2 separate regions of the Homo sapiens genome follow, and region 2 is linked to region 1. Evidence: promoter capture Hi-C in 16 types of primary human blood cells and fetal thymus (Javierre and others, 2016). All regions are on one chromosome and are shown on one strand. Each heading gives the region's core, a stretch centred on a gene start or on the middle of the fragment in contact. The rest is flanking DNA. Distances are from core to core; before and after follow the strand shown. Region 1 holds the start of ZDBF2 (zinc finger DBF-type containing 2). Region 2 holds the start of SATB2-AS1 (SATB2 antisense RNA 1).

The links. Contacts are between HindIII fragments. The CHiCAGO score rates a contact against its expected background, and 5 or more counts as called.
Region 2: a fragment that was not itself captured here is called in contact with the fragment with the promoter of ZDBF2 in region 1 in 2 of 17 cell types (total B cells and naive B cells); the score reaches 18.6 in total B cells.

The regions. Positions count from the first base shown.
Region 1 is chr2:206,270,733-206,276,805 of GRCh38, forward strand. ZDBF2 (zinc finger DBF-type containing 2) reads left to right here and starts at 3,931. Exons shown (of 5, transcript NM_020923.3): 1 at 3,931-4,214. RefSeq lists silencers at 3,826-3,885, 4,166-4,625 and an enhancer at 4,289-4,788. The HindIII fragment of the contact is 6,855 bases long and covers 3,152-6,073 here.
Region 2 is chr2:199,462,952-199,469,024 of GRCh38, forward strand. It overlaps SATB2-AS1 (SATB2 antisense RNA 1), which reads left to right and starts at 5,147. Exons shown (of 2, transcript NR_026830.1): 1 at 5,147-5,310. It also overlaps a transcript of SATB2 not described here. RefSeq lists an enhancer at 1-129. The HindIII fragment of the contact is 8,458 bases long and covers 1-6,073 here.

The DNA.
Region 1 (6,073 bases), core at 2,681-5,180:
CCAAATTTTTATTTTTAGAAGAGATGGGGTTTCACCATGTTGGTCAAGCTTGTCTTGAACTCCTGAGCTCAAATGATCCGCCCGCCTCAGCCTCCCAACGTGCTGGGATTACAGGTGTGAGCCACGGTGCCCGGCCCACAATTATTTTAAAATAATGATTTGGATGGGGCATGTGCATGAATCCCTTTATGCTTAAAGAAAACATTTTACTTTTTAAAGACCTAACATGCCAGGCTTCGGGGTAAAAGCTTTATAATGACCTCACCTGACTGTAAATAGGTAGAATGAAGCACACAGTAATAGAATTTGGGAAAAGACATAGTCCACACTCTAAATTGGTGAAATCTCAATTCTTTTATGACCCAGCTATGAGATCTTGTTTTTTCCAAATAGCCTTTCCTTAAGACATTAGCCTAATATTAGCTTAAATGGCTTACAAAATGTAGACATTATTGGAGTGCTTTCTAGACACAAAAGAGCAGGTTTTGGTGTTCCTTAAAAGAAGGAAGCATGTGAAATAACACATACTCAGCACTTTTTTCTCCCTGGACCAAATATGTTGGGGGAGGAAATGAAGTACATACAAACCCAATCCTGATCTCTAAGGTCCTTTAAATATGTTTAGATGTGTAATGTGTTTAGATCTGTAATGGGTTAATAAAGAATTGAGGGGGAAATTACAACTTTTGGAGCTTAACCTTATAGATAACTAAGCTCTCCCACAAAACGTGCCCATTGCCAGTAGACGGAAATCTGGTTTGTGCGGACTGCTGATCTGATGCAGAATGGCACTCCCTTTGATGTTTTATGATAGTATCATGTTGGAAGAAAAATTTTGCCAACTAAACTATAACACAATTTCTTGTAATTTAGTGTTTTTCTTTTTTTCTTTTCTTTTTTCTCTTTGAGACAGGGTTTTACACTGTTGTCCAGGCTGGAATGCAGTGGTGCGATCACGGCTCGCTGCAGCCTCTACATCCCGGGCTCAGGTGATTCCCCCGCTTCAGCCTCCTGAGTAGCTGGGACTACAGGCATGCACCACCATGCCTGGCTGATTTTTTTGTAGTTTTTGTAGAGATGAGGTCTCGCTGTTTCCCAAGTTGGTCTTGAACTCCTGGGATCAAGCGATCCTCCCGCCTTAGCCTCCCAAATTGCTGGGACTACAGGTGCGAGCCACCATACCTGGCCTATTTTTATTTCATACTCAGTAAAAGAGCACTCTCAGACTTTGACACATTTATTATGCATTGATCTTGTGAATGCATAAAAAGAGACATATAAGTAAAATTGGTTTAGGTATTTCAGAAACTTCATATTCGGAACTCAACTTTCATTTTATTTATTTTTTTAATTAATTAATTTATTTATTTATTTTGAGACGAAGTCTCACTCTGTTACCCAGGCTGGAGTGCAGTGGCACGGTCTCAGCTCACTGCAACCTCCGCCTCCCAAGTTCAAGTGATTCTCCTGCCTCAGCCTCCCCAGTAGCTGGGATTACAGGCATGTACCACCATGCCTGGCTAATTTTTGTGTTTTTTTTTAGTAGAGATGGAGTTTCGCCATGTTGGCCAGGCTGGTCTCAAACTCCTGACCTCAGGTGATCCGCCCACCTCGCGCTCCCAAAGTGCTGGGATTACAGGCGTGAGCCACCGCGCCAAGCCCAGAGCTCAACTTTTATGAATCACTTTTTGAATCAGTTGTCCATGGCTGTAGCTTTCCACCAAAAGTGTTGGTGATGCATCTAACTTTAAGAATGCTCCAGCTGGGCACAGTTACAGCTCATATCTGTAATCTCAGCACTTTGGGAGGTGAATGTGGGAGGATCCCTTGAAGCCAGGAGTTCGAGACCAGCCTGGGCAAAAAAGTGAGAACCCCCATCTCTACAAAAAGTAAAAAAATTAGCCAGGCATGGTGGCACACGCCTGTGGTCCCAGCCACTTTGGAGACTAAGGCAAGAAGATCGCTTGAGCTTGGGAGGTCAAGGCTGCAGTGAGCCGTGTTTGCGCCACTGAACTCCAGCCTGGGTGACAGAAGGAGACCCTGTCTCAAAACAAAAACAAAAACAAAAACAAAAAACAGAGAGGGAGAGAAAGGAAGGAAGAATGCTGCACTATTGTATGCAGGATTTTCTTCCAAGCAGCTGATCTTATTCTGCAAGTTTTGATGCTGGCACCTTCTTGATCTCACCTGAATATGTCAATTTTGTGTTTTCACGCAAAACATTCAGGACTTGTTTTCCTCCTTCAATGGTGTTATTGAATAAAAGCTGTAGGGGTTGTAACTGACTAATCAGGCTATCAAGAATAATATCGAAGTTATTTCATTTTTGGGGGGTGCAAGTAGGCTTAGTATTTAACTGTTCATATATGGGTTCCCAAAATCCATCAAGAATGAATGTACTTGGTAAGTAACTCAGGGCTCCCAGAAGACTACTAGTTCTTAGCCAGTCCCATCTCTTTCTTTTCTAAATGCTGGGGAAATCTCTTTTTGGTCCTAGGAAAATCTTCTCCAGGCAAATCTTCCCTCTTTCCCTAGGAAAATCTCTCTCCAAGTTTGAGTGACTTTTGTCTGTTAATTCCCTTCCTCCTAGGGTTATGGGTTTTATTAAACAATGCACTTATCTCAGTTGAAATGAGGACAACCTGCACAGCAACATCCACGTTGTAATACGTGGAGGTAATGACAACCAGGTCTGTACTGCCACCCGGTCAACGAGAGTTTATAAGATGCATCTTGATTTCACAGATGTTAAAATGTGGGGAAAAACATGGCTTAGCATCTGTGAAATACATAATGTCATGGTGCTTCGATCAATGTATAGTGGATTTTCTATAATTCCAAAGTTGGGATGTGGAAAAAACTTGCCTTAAAAGAAATCCGTACTTTTTGGTATGTTAAATCTAAGGGAGGTTATAAATCGAACAGTTGCAGGAGCCCAACTTTAAAGTGAGAGAAAGATGTAGTGGGGGAAGAAGGAGCTGAGAAATACAGAAAGAATAAAAACAATGGACGCAAAAGCAATAGGCAAGTTTTTTTGTTGTTGTTCTTTAAAGGGACAAAATCACAAGCTTACTAAAAAGGGTAACGACAATTACAGCTACAGCCAAAGAGCAAAGTAGCTCATTTTAAGATTATTTTTACATTAGACATAAGCTTTGCAACAGGGCCTCTCTCCATTTTAGTAAAATTGGTTTAGGTGTTTCAGAACCTTCTTATCGCAGATTATAATTTCATATTCAGTAGTGTGATTCATTTAGGTTTGTGATCTCCGTTACACTTAAACTGTTTTTGCTCACAACTATATTCGTAATGGGGTAGCGCAGTGAATATAATTGCATGACCTAATGTTGTTTGTTAATATTTGTAACCCTTTAATGTGCAGGATAGATCTTTGAATACCTAACTTCCTTAAGCCTCAGTTTTCTCAATTTGTCAAAGGGGGACAATAATAGGATTCATTCAGAGTTACTCTGAAATGAAATGCAATAATGTATAGAAACCTTAAACGGTGCCTAGCACAGAGCAAGCGCTCATTGAACAGCAGCTTTTGTGAGATGCACCTCACTATGAAATAGGCATGGAAACGGAAACGACTAGCTCTCTTAGCCCCGTTTTCTTTTCTACATTCATACGTTGCTTTGAATTGGCAAGCAGTTTTTATTTGGACCCTCAAACGCTAAAACCTTGGTCTCTACTTCGCGTCCCAACTGTGCTTATGAGTCTAGTCATTTTTGTTGGAACGCGATAGATTTCCCAAGCTCCGGAGTGGGGCCCTGACCAGGGAGGAAGTGTCCGCTTTAAGAGCTTCTGGAGGGGAGGAAGGGGCTCCTCCGCCCGGGTGGGAGAGTGAGTGAGTGGGTGGGCGGGCAGGGGGCGGTCCCGCCGCTCCTGCGTCAGAAGGGGTCTGGTTTTCGCACCTTCCCTGACGTCAAACCTCCATCAGGGTTGCAACGCCACGTTGCCTTGGATGCCTGCGTGAGTGGAGTCGCGACTCGGGGCCCGCGTCCTGAGAGACGCGCTCCCGCGCCGCTTCTCGCCTCCGGACCGCAGGGGCCGAAGTCGCCTATTTCTGGCTCCGCGGGCAGCGGGGCCGTGGCGCTCGGACGGTCTGGGATTCGGGCGCCGCCGCGGAACCGGAATAAGAAGGGAGAGCGCCCGGCTCGGTCCTCGGTCTCCACCGCGGCCCGGAAGGAATCCGGGCAGCCTCCGCGGAGGTGAGTGCCGCGGCGGGGGCGGGGCGCGGCCGGGGCGACGCCCGCGGGCGGGGCCTGCTCGCCGGGCGCCCGGGGCGCCTTCTTCCCGAGGGACGCCAGGACCGCTCGCTGGGCTCCCGCGGCCGCCTCGCAGGTCCTCGGCTTCCCCCCACCCCGCGTCCCTTTCTGCCCCTGCTGCGTGAGAGGTGTCGGCGGCTCCGGGCCGGGATCGAGGTGGCGGGGCGAGGGAAGGAGGTGGGGCGCAGGCTGCATTGCGCTTCTGTCCGGGGCCCTGGGTCAGAGGGGCCGGCGGACGAGGCCTCGGGTCCGGGCTTGGGGAGGGGGCGGTCTGCGGGGTCGGATTGAGGGCCGGGAACCCGCGGAGTCTTGCCCCTGGGCACCTGTGGGGCCGAGATCCCGAGCCACCTGTCCACACACCCCCTTCCCCCAGTGCCCTGCGTTGGGTCCAGCTGGCCCCAGACCTAGGCCTTTCCCAGCCTCGGGCGATTATAGTTTATTTGAAAACGTTTGATTTTTGTGTTAATGATTCTTTTACTACCGCCGTGCAACAGTTGTGTAAATGTGGTCGTGTTACGCCATCGTTTTTACTTGCTCCTAAGAAGGGCCTTACCAGCTCCTGCGATTATCTCACGCGATGATTCTTGGTAGCTCGTGAAAAAAATGCATAACAAGATACTGGTTCTCAAGGGACCAAAACCCCACCCCCACCTAAAGGAAATAGCTTGTTTTTGTTTTTCTTTTTTACAGCAATATGCTACGTGTGGGGAGGGGGAGGGACGATGGAGGCAGCCTGTAGCGATCTCATCCTCGAGAGAATCTGCTAACAATTTGGGGGGTATCTTTCCTTCCTTTTTAATTAATACACAAACATATATACGTGTGTTACATAAGGGGTGTTTATTTGCTTTTTTCACTTAATACGTGGAAGACCTTTTCTCTATCGTTTGAACCTAAAGCCTAGAAGGCAAGAAAGCAACTCGTTAGAGAGTTGATAAAGTATCACTGCAGTGGCCAGTGATTTGGATAGAAATAAGCTGAATTCAGGGTAAGAACTGGTTTCTATAAAATATGGTTTACTCTGCATAATAATTGGAGGCAGTGTTTTTTCAAACTGAGTTTTTTCAGCCGGTTCGTGAATGGTGAAATTAATTTAGTCATGACTAGCATTTAAAAAAAAATAAGATCGCATAAAAAAATCAGAATGCATTATATGTAATGAGAGTATTGTTTTGTGAAAAATATTTTAACTGTGCGCGTGTGCATTGTGAAATTTAGTGGGTCGTGACTAGCATTAAAAAAAGTAAGATCGCATAGAAAATATCAGACTGCATTACATGTAATGAGAGTATTGTTTTGTGAAAAATCTTTTAAGTGTGCGTATGTGCCTGTGCGTGTGTGCTCGGTTGTAATTAAAAATTTATTGGTTCCTGTGTGTCATGTTAAATAATCTTGAGAGTCGCTAATCCAAGGTACTGTCAGCACTCAAATGAGCAAGATGCAATTAAACTAGACATTAGTTTTATTTTTTCTTTGGAATAGTGGTGATGTTGATTGCAGCAAATAAGAGTCCTAATTATTTGTTTTCACCTAATATTAAAACAAGTAGTATTCCTAAAAATACAGAGAGGAAGTGTCTAAGTCGTTAAGAGGTTAAAGCATAAACTACTCAAATTGACCAGTGATCACATCTCAGTTACGCTGGTTATTGGTGTGAGACCTGCAACAAGATACCTCTTTTCTCTCAACCTCAGTTCCCTGATTTGTTAAATGGGAATTAATCATGGCAGCTACCTTATAAAGCTGTTTGTTATTTAGATGAGATAATGCACAGGAAGCTGTTGACAGAGCGCCTGGCTCAG
Region 2 (6,073 bases), core at 2,223-4,722, 6.8 Mb before region 1:
AGCTTTCTGCACTGGGCTTCCCGGGGTAGGAGATGGGCGTCGGGTGTGGGCACTGCCTGCCCTGGGGGAAGAAAGCGAGGAGATAGGTTTCAGAGCTGGGGGAGTCGTTGGTGGGAGATCTGGTGTCCCTTCGGCGGCCGCGGGCCGGGGGACCGGGGAAGACGGAGGGTCCTGCGGCCTGGAGCACCACCCTACCACACCAGGCAACGCCCCCCGGGGCGCCCTTCATTCTTTTGCAGAGCCCAGAACTTAATAGGTGGGTCCCCTTCTGCAACCACGCTGCGAGAGAATGACTGCCCTGCTAATCTAGTTTACTTGTAGAAATCGACTGTAAACCGGGACAACAAGGCAAGGGTGGGGGAAGAAAAGGAAGCGCCGAAGGAGCCGCCGCTGCGTCCCCGCCCCCAGCTCGGAGCTGCCGGGGTTGGGGCCCCGGGTGGCGCTCCCGACCCGCCGCGTTTTCCTTAGGGAAACACCGAGTGAGGCAGAGGATCTCAGGCCCAAGGTGGCTGCGAAGAGCCCCGAGGCCTCGGCTTGGCGTCAATGTCCCGCCACCCTCGAGCCCGGGTCACTGCCCGGGTCCCGGCCCGGAGCCCCAGCGTCCTCTCCCGACAGCGCCACCGCGTGGGCTGAGGCCGAAACCTTCGGCGCCGGCTCTGCCGGTCGCGTCCCGGAGCCAACCCTTCCGCGTCGCCTGCAGTCCACGGGTTAAGGATGTGGCGGGGGATGGGCAGGTCCCTGGCCCAGGGTACCACCGGGCCACTCAACACAAAAACGCCCTGGCGCGTGCAAAATACGAACGCCCACAGTTTGTCCCAACCCCTTGAAATGAAAAGTACACCTGGAAAGCCCAAGATAGCACCCGGTCCGCACCCCAAATTTCAGGCAGGCCAGCAGGCGTCCAGAAATCCGCTCCCACCCCTCGTAGGGGCAGGCAAGCTCAGGCAGCCGGGTGCAAGGGGGCCCAAACCGCAGTTGCCTCCCGAACGCTTTGAGGCTATGGGCCCACGCCGGTCTTGAACCAAGCGGAGAGGGCGAAAAAGCCCGCTGCGGGACCCACGGTCCCAGACACCTACTGGAGCCAGGGACGAGGGGGGCAGTGTATCCGGCGGCCCAAACTCGTAAGGAGTGGGGGCCAACTTAGAGGGCTTCCCGAGCTGGCGCCTCGCCTGTTTTCTCGGTATCACGAATCCCCTCGGACACCGTTTCAGTCCGTCAAGACCTTGGCCTCCGGGAAAGGCCCAAGTGACTGTGACGGCGGCGACTCGGGCTCAGTTCTCCCCCACCCCGTGGTGCCTTCCCTCCCCGCCCTACAGCCAAGCCCAGAGGAACAGGGCATCGCCTCGCGCGGTCCCGGAGCCACATCCGGACTTGGGAACCCCGTGTCGGGCTTAGAGGACTTCACTGGGCGGGTTGGGGTTTATTTTCAATAAATTCAGCTGTTCACATACACCCCCACCACCATTTCCACGCGCGCGCGCGCACACACACACACACACACACAGAGGGACTTGTCAACTATTGAGACAGCGACCCAGAAAGGTGTAAATTCACCTGGTGCCCACCCAATTGCAAAGCTCCCAGACCCACACAAAACACTAGCGAGCCCTGGAGGTCTGAGACGCCCCGCGCCCGACTCACGGCGCGAACACCAGCGCTCCGGCCGGGTCGCAGGGGCCGGTGCCCAGCGGGCCGGGGTCTGGCGAGCCAGGCAGCGGGCCGGCTGAGCTCCTGCGCCCCGCGGTCGCGTGGCCTACTCGCCTACTCCCTTATTATTGGCTGGGACCTGTTCCTTTCCAAAGTGTGATGCCCGGTGTCCTACCCTAGGCCACGCGGAGCTCTCTCCCGGCGTGTCGGGCCCTGCGCCCCTGCCCAGTGGCTCACCTCGGCTCGCTGCGCCCGCCTTCGCCCCAAGTGCCCAGGACGGAGCGAGGGGCTGTGGGTCGGCGCAGGGACGCTGGCTGCTCACCTCCAGGAGCCGACAGAAGGTGCCTTCGGCGTCACGCGTCCAACCCTGGGGCTGATTTAAATAACTAATAAGCTCAGAGAAATTTTACGAGGGGAACTTTTCCTTTTAGTATCAATAAAGCCTAGTAATTGGGTTTGTTGGTTACCTAAGCTCGAGTTCGACTTTCTCAGTCTCTCTCTCTCTCTCTCTTTCTCATTCAGAGGCAACGTTTTCAAAAACCGGCAATTGCGTGTGCGTTTGGGGTGTGCAAGTGTGAGTGTAGATGTGTGAAAGTTATTTGTTTCAGCAGTCCTTGTCTCGAGAGCAATCATCATTGTAGCTTTGAGTGAAGAGTTTTCAAAGGTGAACTGTTGTTATTTCTGTCAACAGAAAACTGTTGACAACCATTCAAGTCTCACAATACAAGTATAATATAAGGGAGGGTGGAATATCTAAAGACTGTCCCGTTGGATATGACAGAAAGACATCTGCAGTGTTTCCCTAATAGTTTGCATTTTAATTAACTTTCATTACATTCTGACTTCCACTCAATATCCGTTGTTTTCAGTAAAGACTTCTATATGATAAAACGTTGTAATTTTTGTTCTGGTTTTCCAATCTTCTTGAAAACCAGTTCTTAATTGTAAGGAATTTTTCCACCTGGGAACCATGCCGTAATTTAAAAATATAAAAGACCTTTCATGAACAATAACTGCAAATAACCCATTTGTTAGTGTCTGCGGAGTTGCTGGCACCTATACAAAGTCTCTGAAATATAAAGGCAATCTAAGAATGTTTCTCTCCAACCATAGTGATATATACTTTTTTCGTTTTTGTTGTGTGGAAGTTAAAAACACTTTTAAAGTTACTTTTTAGAAAAGTGTTGTGCTAAAATTTACCTGAACTTAAATTCCTTATCAATGTTAGCCTAACGAAATGAAGAGTATTTCTGAATCAGATTATTGTTAGAGTCATATGCTAAATAGTAAAGGAAAAGAAATGGGAATTAAAGTTTGCAAACCAAGACCAGGGAAAAGTCGGCTCCAGAAGTTACCAGGAACCCACCCAAACCTGTGCACTCATATCTCCTGTATTTACATATTATAGACAACTTTTCCTTTCCACTTTTAGCTAGAAAAGTGGTGGGCTCCCCTTAGTTCGTCTCGTTTTATGCTGTAAGACCCAAAGTCTGCTGAGGGCTGCCCCTGCCAGGTAACTTCCGGAGACCCGGAGTTACTTGGAGACAGACCCGGCCCTTTGCACATTCCAAGTGAAGGACGTCTCGCGCATTCTTCCCAGAGCTACCACACACCTAACCTCTTCTGGACACCCAACAGCTGGGGCACTGGAGCACCTGACCCTACTCAAGATCATCCCCCAGCCCTTGCCGGCACTTAGGGACAGCAGAATCTGAGCTGTGGGTGTACATACTCCCCATTTTCTGCTTTCCCAGAGGATCACAGACAACTTTTCTTCCCATCTGCTCCCGCTGGACTCCTATGATCACCCATCATCCCCAGTTGTTGCTATCTCTGAGCTCTTGGTGACCAGCCCTTGTCCCCCAAGCTGACCAAGTTGAGAGAGTACTTGTCCTCCCAGCACTGTCTCTCAGTATCAGGAAGTTGAGATCAGTGGCAGGGAAAGATGGAAGGATTGGCAAGGAAAGTGCAGGGCCAAGTAGAGTAGCTCAGAGCCTCAGCAATGGGCACCTGTCCTCCCCCAAACAACCTGTGGTCTCTCCGGCTCCCTGCTTTTCCACCATTGGTCCCATCCTGGGCTACCAGCCTCCACTGAGCTGCTCTGGGAACTTAGGGTGTCTCACATTACTTCCCTGCTATGGCATATTTTGGTTTCAGTTGAGCTATTTTCTGAAGATGTGGATACTCCAGTTTTATTCTTTTTCTGTCTGTGTCTCAGTACTCTTTTCCTTTTTTAAGAATGTTCCCCAAGCCTGGCTTTTGCCAGACCCTGTGCCATCTCCCCAAGCTCTATTTACAAGAACAAGAAGTGATTTGTCTGTTTATAGCAGGTTTAATTAAGACAGTTATGCGCCGTGAACTCTTTGGGCCTCAATCAATGCACTTAGATTTGGAAACTCAGATAGAATCACATCTTACACGTGCGGCCCCGGCTGGCCGCCCAGGCTGAGGACAGAGCTATTGTTTTCTACATCAGCCTCACTGGAACTGGGCAAGTCCCCTGCAGAACTGGCACCCCCTGCTCCTCCCAAGAGACCTCAAGTCAGGTCTCCCGGCCAGACTCAGGCCTTTCTAATACAGGCGTGAAGGGCGGGACGCCCAGAGCCCTCTTGTTGGCCGGTGGCTAAGGAGCCAGGTGGATAACTTCTGCGGATTCGGCTTTCAGGCTGCTGGAGCTCTCCCCAGCCCGAGGCCTTAGCCCAGCGCAATCCCTTGTCCAGACCGGCCAGTTTCCGCGTGGCGAAAAAGGGGGAGGCAAGTGTGTCTTTTCCAAGGAGCTTTTATCCAACAGCCTCCCCTCCCCCCAACTCTCAGCCTTAGGTGCCGGGCTTCAGCCGAAGCGTTTTTCAAATTTGTCATCATTGGAAACCTCGGACAAGTGGAGTGTAAAATTTTGAGGGTTTCCAGGTAGGCTCTGACTTCAGGCATTCAATGAAAGGGGAAGAGGGCTGAGGGCGGGGGAGAGAGACAAGCACAGAGGGCTCCCTGTAGTCGGCAGGAATTCCCTCCCTCTGCAGCCCAGCTGCACCCACTAGCACACACTAGTCTTGCCTTCTCCCGGCTTTGGAAGAATCCCCACCACATTCTTTAGCTCTCAGAAAGGAGAGGGCAGTCAGGTCAAGGTCTTTCAGCATCCCTACCGCAATATACCCCTCCCAGCCCCCTCACCACCACCACGTTGGCCTAGGACACAGGACCCCGGGGCCAGGGCCTCAGTGACTGCAGCTTATGCCACCTAATGCAGAATGGGGTGTCCCTGCCTCCACTGCTCCTCTCGGTCTCAGCATCCAGGTCCTGAAACCCCTGCGATTCTGGCCTGGGAAGCCAGACTTGCCACCAACATCATGGTATCACCCATAATTGATCCACTCAGTTTTCAGTAGATGTGGAATCCAACAAGAGTAACACCACCCTCCACGCCCCACTCTTTTTTCTTTCTTTCTTTCTTTCTTTTTCTTTCTCTCTCTCTCTCTCTTTTTTTTTTTTAAGAATCCAAGGCACTTGAAACATTCTGAGTGTGCCTGCAGTAGGGTCTCAGAGGAGTTGCTCTGAAAGCTGTTGAGAGCAGCCACCTTTGCTGTCACTGAGAGCTTGGCAGGGTCAGCTCTGGTGGGCCGTTTGCACCCAGGCTCTGATGGCACCAGGATGGCTTCCTGCAACCCGGTAGGAGGACTGGGGTGGGTGGGTCCAGTATTTCGTTTCTTCCTCTTCCTTTTTTTTTTTTTAATGTCCCTCTTTATTTCTATTGAAGACTAACCTCAGTATCAAAGGGTGCACTTGTTTGTCCTAAATGGCTTGTAGCTCTTTCCTACTCTGCCACAGGACATTAGCTCTGGGAGCACCGCCTGGCAGGGCCTTCGCTTTGGGCCTAAGCATCCAACTGAGGCCCAGCAATTCCACCTGTGGGGAATCTTGCAGTGAGGTATTTGTGCATCAGGAGTGGGGAGTGAGGGAGAGAGAGCTGGGCTGGTGCAGTATCCACTCTCGCACCTCCTCCCTGAGCGGAGCTCCAGTATAGACTAAGTGAATGAATCCATGAATCAGCTCCATAGCCGAGGGGTAGAAGAAGCAGCCGTCTTCGTTAAATGGGCTGTTGGCAGTTGCGGCTGACTGCTCTACCCCTCGCAGGCCCGCCTCTGGGCAGGCCTGAGGTGGCCCTGGAGCCCCGCCAGCAGCCCCCGCCCCTCAGGCCAAGCTCTGGCCCTGGCAATCTCTGCACTTTGTCATCACGCCCGAGTATTTGACATTCGCAATTATCTGCAAATACCCTGATCAGTTTGTATATGAAACACTTTTTTTCCTGCCTTAAGGTTGGAATCTGGTAAGTTTCAGACAAGTGGTTGCAGGGGGAGATGACCCAGGGGACCGTGCGGGACAGGGCCGGTGAACCCGATTCCGCGAGGCGGGCGTCTCGAAGGGACTGGTC